Linked DNA regions of Homo sapiens: region 1 is linked to region 2. The links are contacts of gene promoters, found by promoter capture Hi-C in blood cells and fetal thymus (Javierre and others, 2016). All regions are on one chromosome and are shown on one strand. Each heading gives the region's core, a stretch centred on a gene start or on the middle of the fragment in contact. The rest is flanking DNA. Distances are from core to core; before and after follow the strand shown. Region 1 holds the start of NGRN (neugrin, neurite outgrowth associated). Region 2 holds the start of LOC124903555 (a long non-coding RNA gene).

Region 1 (3,091 bases), core at 455-2,954, 330 kb after region 2:
ACAGAGCCTAGTTTTTGGTAGAGAAAAACTATTAAAAATAGTACAGCTGCACACAGTGGCTCATGCCTGTAATCCCAACACTTTAGGAGGCTGAGGTGGGATGATCGCTTGAGCCCTGGGAATTGGAGACTAGCATGGGCAACATGATGAGGCTATCTCTACAAAAAATAAACAAAATTAACCAAGCATGGTGGCATGCACCTGTAGTCCCAGCTACTTGGGAGGACGAAGTGGGAGGATGGCTTGGGCCCAGGAGGTAGAGGCTGCAGTGACCGGTGATCACATCATTGTACTCCAGCCTTGGCGACAGAGTGAGACCCCCAACTACCAAAAAAAAAAAAAAAAAGTACCCACAGGAGAGTGGGTGGGACAAATAATTCTCAATGTGTATACCATGTTATACTGTTAGGTTGAGCCATATGTAATACTTTACCTACTCAAAACAAAAAAACTTAAAAACTCTTTTAAGCTTTCCTAAATTATAGATCCTGTCTTCAGAAAAATGCACCTACCTATGGAAGCACCAGCATCCCTGTACCTTAGGTTGGGAACGTCACAACCTACATTCAAGGGTTAAATGTTGTGATGTCTGCGATTTACTATTTAAAAATTTCAGTAAAAATGAACCAACCACGTCATAACGTTAAAAACTATTAAAACCAGGCGGGGCGCAGTGGCTCATGCCTGTAATCCCAGCACTCTGAGAGGCCGAGGCGGGAGAATCACTTGAGGTCTGGAGTTCGAGGCGATAGCGAAACCCCGTCTCTTTAAAAAACAAAACAAAACACTATTAAATCTAGATAATGACAGGGTTAGGGAAGTTCGTTATATTACTCTACTTTTCTGATAATAAATTTCAACGACAAAAAGTAAACGAAAATATAAAAGCAGTATCAAAAAAGCCAAACCCGTTTCTGGGCTCCAGCATCCTTCACTTCTCATCACAGCGGATACAAACAAGGTATCCTGAGTCTCACCGTATCTGCTCCATGGCTTCCCACGTCAGGGTCCTGGGCGGGGCACCAGGCGCCTCCATTTGCCTCCGAATTTTCTGGAATCGGATTGCTTGTTTCTGTCGTTTCAGGGTGCTGGGGGAAGAGAACCAATGGCAGAAGCCATGCGTGGAAGCAGAATGGATGTTTGAAGAGCCTCAGGCTAAATCATGGAGCGCCCAGCCCTCTTCTCTTTGATCGCAAGGGCAACCGGGCCATGTTGCCGGCTTAGAGCTGCTCCGTACACCCAGAAAGCTAACACCTAGAACAATAACTGCCTGTAAGCATGCCGAACTCTCTAAACTGATGATGAAATACGTCACTAATGAAGGGACCAGTGGTCCCAGGGGAGCTGAACACCTGACGCTGCGCCCCTAACAACGGGTAAGAAGAAACAAGGGCCGCTGCGCAAGCAGCGGCAGGACACCCGGCGCCAAGGGGGCGCGGCCTGGAGCGCCGGGGCACGAGGCCCTGCTTCAAGCTGAGGGCCCGGGGAGAAGCCGGTACCTCTCCACCTCCTGCAGCTCCCGTTCCTCCGGCTCCCAGTCGGAATCGGGGTCCGGCTCCCGGCCAATAGGGCCTGGGCCCGCCACCCCCCGGGTCGCGAACCCACAGCGAGTGACGGCGGCGCAAACGCGCCCGCCCAGCAAGAGACTCAGGGTAACCGCCATGTCGACGCAAACCAGCCTTCAGCAGTCGGCTACGAAACAGCAGCGGAAGTAGCCGGGTAAGACCGGAAGTGGAAGGGGCGGGCCGGAGGCTGGGTAGTAGCAAGTTATTTCCCGCTTCACTTGGTGGGGGTAAGATCTGGGCTCACGCTGCTCAGTGGCCCACCCTTTCTGCCTGTAACTGTGGAGAGGGCTTCCCTGAAACGTGAGGGCCGAAATGAGGTACAGGACGCTCCTGGAAAACTGCATAAACTTTAATTAAAGTACGGATTCCGTTTCCAAGAGCCGTCCCTCCGCCCCAGCGGCTGCCCAGGCCTGCCTGTCTCCGCCACCTCGGTGGGCAGGGCTTCCGCTCGGCAGTCTTCTGACGGCGACAGCCCAGTGCCTTGGGCACTCGGCTTCTCTGGGAAAGGGGCTCATTGTCTCCTGGATGGCCTCCAGCCCCGGGCCGCACCTAGGGTTCAGACCCATCACCTAGCGATAAACCCAGGCTAAGGCTTGATGAGCAGAAATGAGTACATGGCTGGCCTTGGCGCCTCTTCATCTTCTAGTCTTTACCGATCCCCAATTAATCTTAGGGTATTGAGGAATTCTTGGTGTCTTTGTATTTTGCCTTATACAAATGGGGTTCCTGGGCAGGGCTTTTCAAAGTGGAACTTGGTGGCAGTCATTCATTTAGCAAAGATTTAATGCCCTTTGGAAACCTGGGGAGGTTATCCAGGAGAGGTAGAGTGCTTCCCTCCTGCTTTTACCTGAACTGATTGATGTTGAGGAGTGCTCTGGAACGCTGCAGCATGGGTGCAGACGCAGGGCAGAGGGGAACCTTGGCTGCTCTGTGTTCAGAGTTTACCATGGAGGGCAAGGTGCATTCAGTCCATGAGTCAGATGCCACTCTTTCCGGTTGCAGAAAATAGCCCTGCTTTGGGGTTAAAGTGGGTGGCACTGATCCTGCCAGGACTCGGTTTATGGCTTCTAGCCTTCTGCTGGCTTGTCCTTCTGCAGTGGAAACATGGATGTCCCTGAGTTGGTATTCACAGAAGAGATTTGTTCACCTCTTTCCCAACTGTGGCCCAATTACCAACACAGAGGAAGGGCATCTCATGCTTCCCTCCACTGTCTTTCCCACACTGTATTGTAATTGGTATGGTATGTCTTTTTGTCCATGTTCCTATTACCTCTTGAGTGCTGGGACTGTATTTCTGCCATTTCTATCACCAGGGTCTAGTGTACAGAAAGGATTAAATAGGCCTGGTGCGGTGGCTTACACCTGTAATCCTAGCACTTTGGGAGACTGATTCAGGTGGATCAGGAGTTCAAGACCAGCCTGGGCTACGTGGCAAAAACAAAATATACAAAAGTTAGCCGAGCATGGTGGTGTGTGCCTATAGTCCCAGCTACTCAGGAGGCTGAGTCAGGAGAATTACTTGAGCC
Region 2 (3,153 bases), core at 358-2,857:
AAAAGTACCCAAGACAGCTCAAATTCTACCAAAAATCCAACCAATCACTGTCCCCTTAATCTGTTCCTCTTCTTATAGTCCATCTCATTTAGTGAGGCCACCGTCCACCAAGACACTCATGTTAGGATCTCAGAGTCATCCCAGTGTGTTCTCTCTCTCCCCAAGCCTCTGCAGTTCTGTGCAGGAAAATCTTCCTCCTCGAGTTACTGCCTCAATCCATCAACACAGGGACTGCTGTTCCTCTCAACCTGTGGAGTGTTAGAGGGAACAGTTCTTACTCTTCACCAAAGGAAGGGGAGCAGCTCTTCTTCTTCTGATAAGAGAGGACATCAGTTGGCCAGTTTACCAGTGGGTGGGGTTACTGAGCCACAGAAGCTGAAAACAAGACCCGCCCTGGCCCTTTCTTTGTGCTGCTTGACCTGCGGCTGGGTGAGCAGGCCCAGGGTTCCCTTCTCTTGGCTTCCCGTCCCTGTGCGGTCAGTGTACCTGGGCAGGGCTCAGGAACTGCCTTGTCGGGGCAGCCTGGAAGCCAGTCATTTCTCTCCTGCTCTGGAACTCTGTGTTCTGCCAGGGACACAGTTTGTGGGGCAGGCCTGAGACCTTCCATGTAGCTGGTGGGGTAAGTGGGCTCGGAGTCTGGTTAACAGAACCCACCTACCAAGACAAGTTTCAGGGTCAGATTTAATATATAAAACTGGCCACAATTTGGCTCCTTCCTGATTGCTCAGCCATGTGTTTATTGTCATTCTACTTCTTTTTGTCCCTTTACCTCTAACTATGTCCCACTAGAAGACATCTTAAAGTGAAACTGTAAGGGAGGATATGAGTGGCATCTTTTTGAGTCCTTGCATTTATAAGAACATCCTGTTTCCCTCAGCAAATGAGAGGCAAACAGGTTGCATGTGGTATTGTGAAGTCAGAATATTTCCCCCTTAAAATTCTAAAGACCAATGTTTCCTTGTCCTTCAAGATAAGACGGGTGTTAGGTAACAGTTGGATTTTGTGATCACTTAAGTTTTGAAATTCTGGGTTAAAGATAAGAAGTTTATTAACTGCAGGACTTTTCAGAGCCCTGATATATACGGTCAGGCTCCAAGAGGTGATACAGAGTATGGTGTTTCTCAAATGTAATAGGCCATGCATCTCAAAGAAACAGTGTCCTATAAACCAATGTCCTAACATTTTCATCTCATTATGATGAAAAGAATCAAAGCAAGGCCCAGCCCAGAGAGGAGAATCATTCCTAACTCTAGTAGGTCTTAGGCATCTCTTCACGACCCTTCACGCTGGTGAACTCTTGACTTCCTTTCAAGGAAGGCATTTCGTGTTTCCTTCTGAGCGTGTCATCCACAAGGCTGAGAAAATATTTTATTTGCTATAAATTTATGTTAATAGTTCAGAAGTTTAGCAATGGTGTTTGGGACACGGCACGTCTGCCAACCTTGATGAGTGAGAGTAAGAAGGGCTGCTACAGACTGCACATCTGCAGAAGGGCAGAAGAGCTTCTCTTCCAAGTGCCCGAGCCCAGGCCCCCAGCCAGGAGCAAGCCCTGGCAGTGCCTCTCCTCCGCCTGTGTGGGGCTAGGCCAGGGCCCAGCTGCAGCTGTGCCTTGGTCTTGTGTGGCCACCCATGCCAAGGGCAAAGCCCACTCCAGAAGGAATCTCCTGTGGCAGAGCTCTGCGTGCTGTGGCTGCCCACTCTGAGAGGAGGCCAGAGTATTTGTTAAACAATGTTCGTTTTATTTGAGATCACCCTATCATAGGAGTGAACCCTTAAAACCCTTGTCTAAGCCAGTGTGTCTTAAATAACACCCAAGCCAAGAAACAGCTATAATAATTCTGATTTTTTCCTTTTGTTCTAACAAAGATTCAAACTAGTGTTTTATACTTTCAAATGAAGAAACTTCATTTAAAAAGTCATAGACAAATGTTCAAGGCCACAATTTTAAGCAGATTATTTCACAACCAACAGAATGCAGGTCGTGAAAGCAAAGACGGAATCACAGCCCTCCTCCTCCAAGTGGAATAGATTAACACCAAAATAAAATCATCCCATTTCACGGACCCTTGATTCCTCAAAAGAGACTGGGCTAAAGAACTTTCTTTGCATCAACCGATGTCCAGTCCCAGGAACCCAATTTAGGAGCTTAGGAGACCACAGAGACATGGCTCATGATCAGTGAATCTGACTCATACTGTCTAATAACTTTAATTTCTCTGCATATTAACTTGGTTTTTGTTTCTCCTTCCTTTAGGAGTTGACTAGCTTTGCTTATGCTCTCAAGTTGATCCATACAGTGCCAGATTATACCCTATCATAAGAGATAGGGTCCCCTGAACACAAGAAGTCATCTCCCCTTCTGGGTAGGACTTTGCACCACATTCTCTTCCCTCTGCCTGGAACATACCTCCCAACTGCTTTACTCTCTTAAATCTCACTCATTACCATCTAAAACCATTTTCCTTTCTTATTGCCTGTTTGCTGTCATCTCCCACAGGACTGTGAACTCAAGAAAGCAGGAAGTATGCCTCCCTTATTCATCACTGGGTCCCCAGTGCTTAGAACAGTGCCTGGCACAGAGACGGGGCTCTGTAAAGATCTGCTGAATGAACACTTTATCCTCTTACTTCTTATCCTTCAAGCCTCAGATGTTCCCCCAGGATGCCTTCTTCGTTTCCCCAGACTAGTTCAAGCTGCACCTCCGACGTGCTCCCACAGCCCCTGAGCTGCCTCCCTGCAGACGCCATACCTGCCGTGGCTGCTTGTTTGCTGAGTAGCCTCTCCCACTGAACCCTGGGCAACTTGAGGTCAGGGACCATGCTGTTTACTGTTACAGTGAATTAAAATGTCTAAAACGGTGTCTGACCACTAGCACATACTTAACAAATAATTTTTATAAGTGAATAAACATTCTCCTCTTTTTTCTTCAATTCCCTTCTCTATTTTGGTTAGTAAAACTATATGCATGCTTATACATTTAGACCGTACTTCAAAAGTATCTGAGATAGCCACATATACATACACACACGTATATATAGCATAATGTTTAATCTAATATATAGAAATGAGAGCACTGACAGGAAAAAGAGGGAACTGAGAACTGAAAAAATATACATTGGTTTTTTTTTTTTTTTTTTGAGACGGAGTCTCGCT

What was found. The method cuts DNA at HindIII sites, captures the fragments that hold promoters and counts their contacts. A CHiCAGO score of 5 or more calls a contact.
Region 1: a contact is called between the fragment with the promoter of NGRN here and a fragment that was not itself captured in region 2, in 1 of 17 cell types (naive B cells). The highest score is 5.4, in naive B cells.

Annotation. Positions count from the first base shown.
Region 1 is chr15:90,264,285-90,267,375 of GRCh38, reverse strand. It overlaps NGRN (neugrin, neurite outgrowth associated), which reads right to left and starts at 1,704. Exons shown (of 3, transcript NM_001033088.3): 1 at 1,500-1,704; 2 at 978-1,088. The coding sequence starts at 1,663. TTLL13 (tubulin tyrosine ligase like 13) reads right to left here. Exons shown (of 15, transcript NM_001396017.1): 15 at 1,899-2,656. The coding sequence ends at 2,409. It also overlaps a transcript of CIB1 not described here. RefSeq lists enhancers at 750-1,720, 1,514-1,743, 2,104-2,233, 1,721-2,692. The HindIII fragment of the contact is 8,147 bases long and covers 472-3,091 here.
Region 2 is chr15:90,595,545-90,598,697 of GRCh38, reverse strand. The region is part of intron 3 of CRTC3 (CREB regulated transcription coactivator 3); the gene reads right to left. It overlaps LOC124903555 (a long non-coding RNA gene), which reads left to right and starts at 2,720. Exons shown (of 2, transcript XR_007064758.1): 1 at 2,720-2,807. RefSeq lists enhancers at 207-501, 2,669-2,738. The HindIII fragment of the contact is 4,338 bases long and covers 1-3,153 here.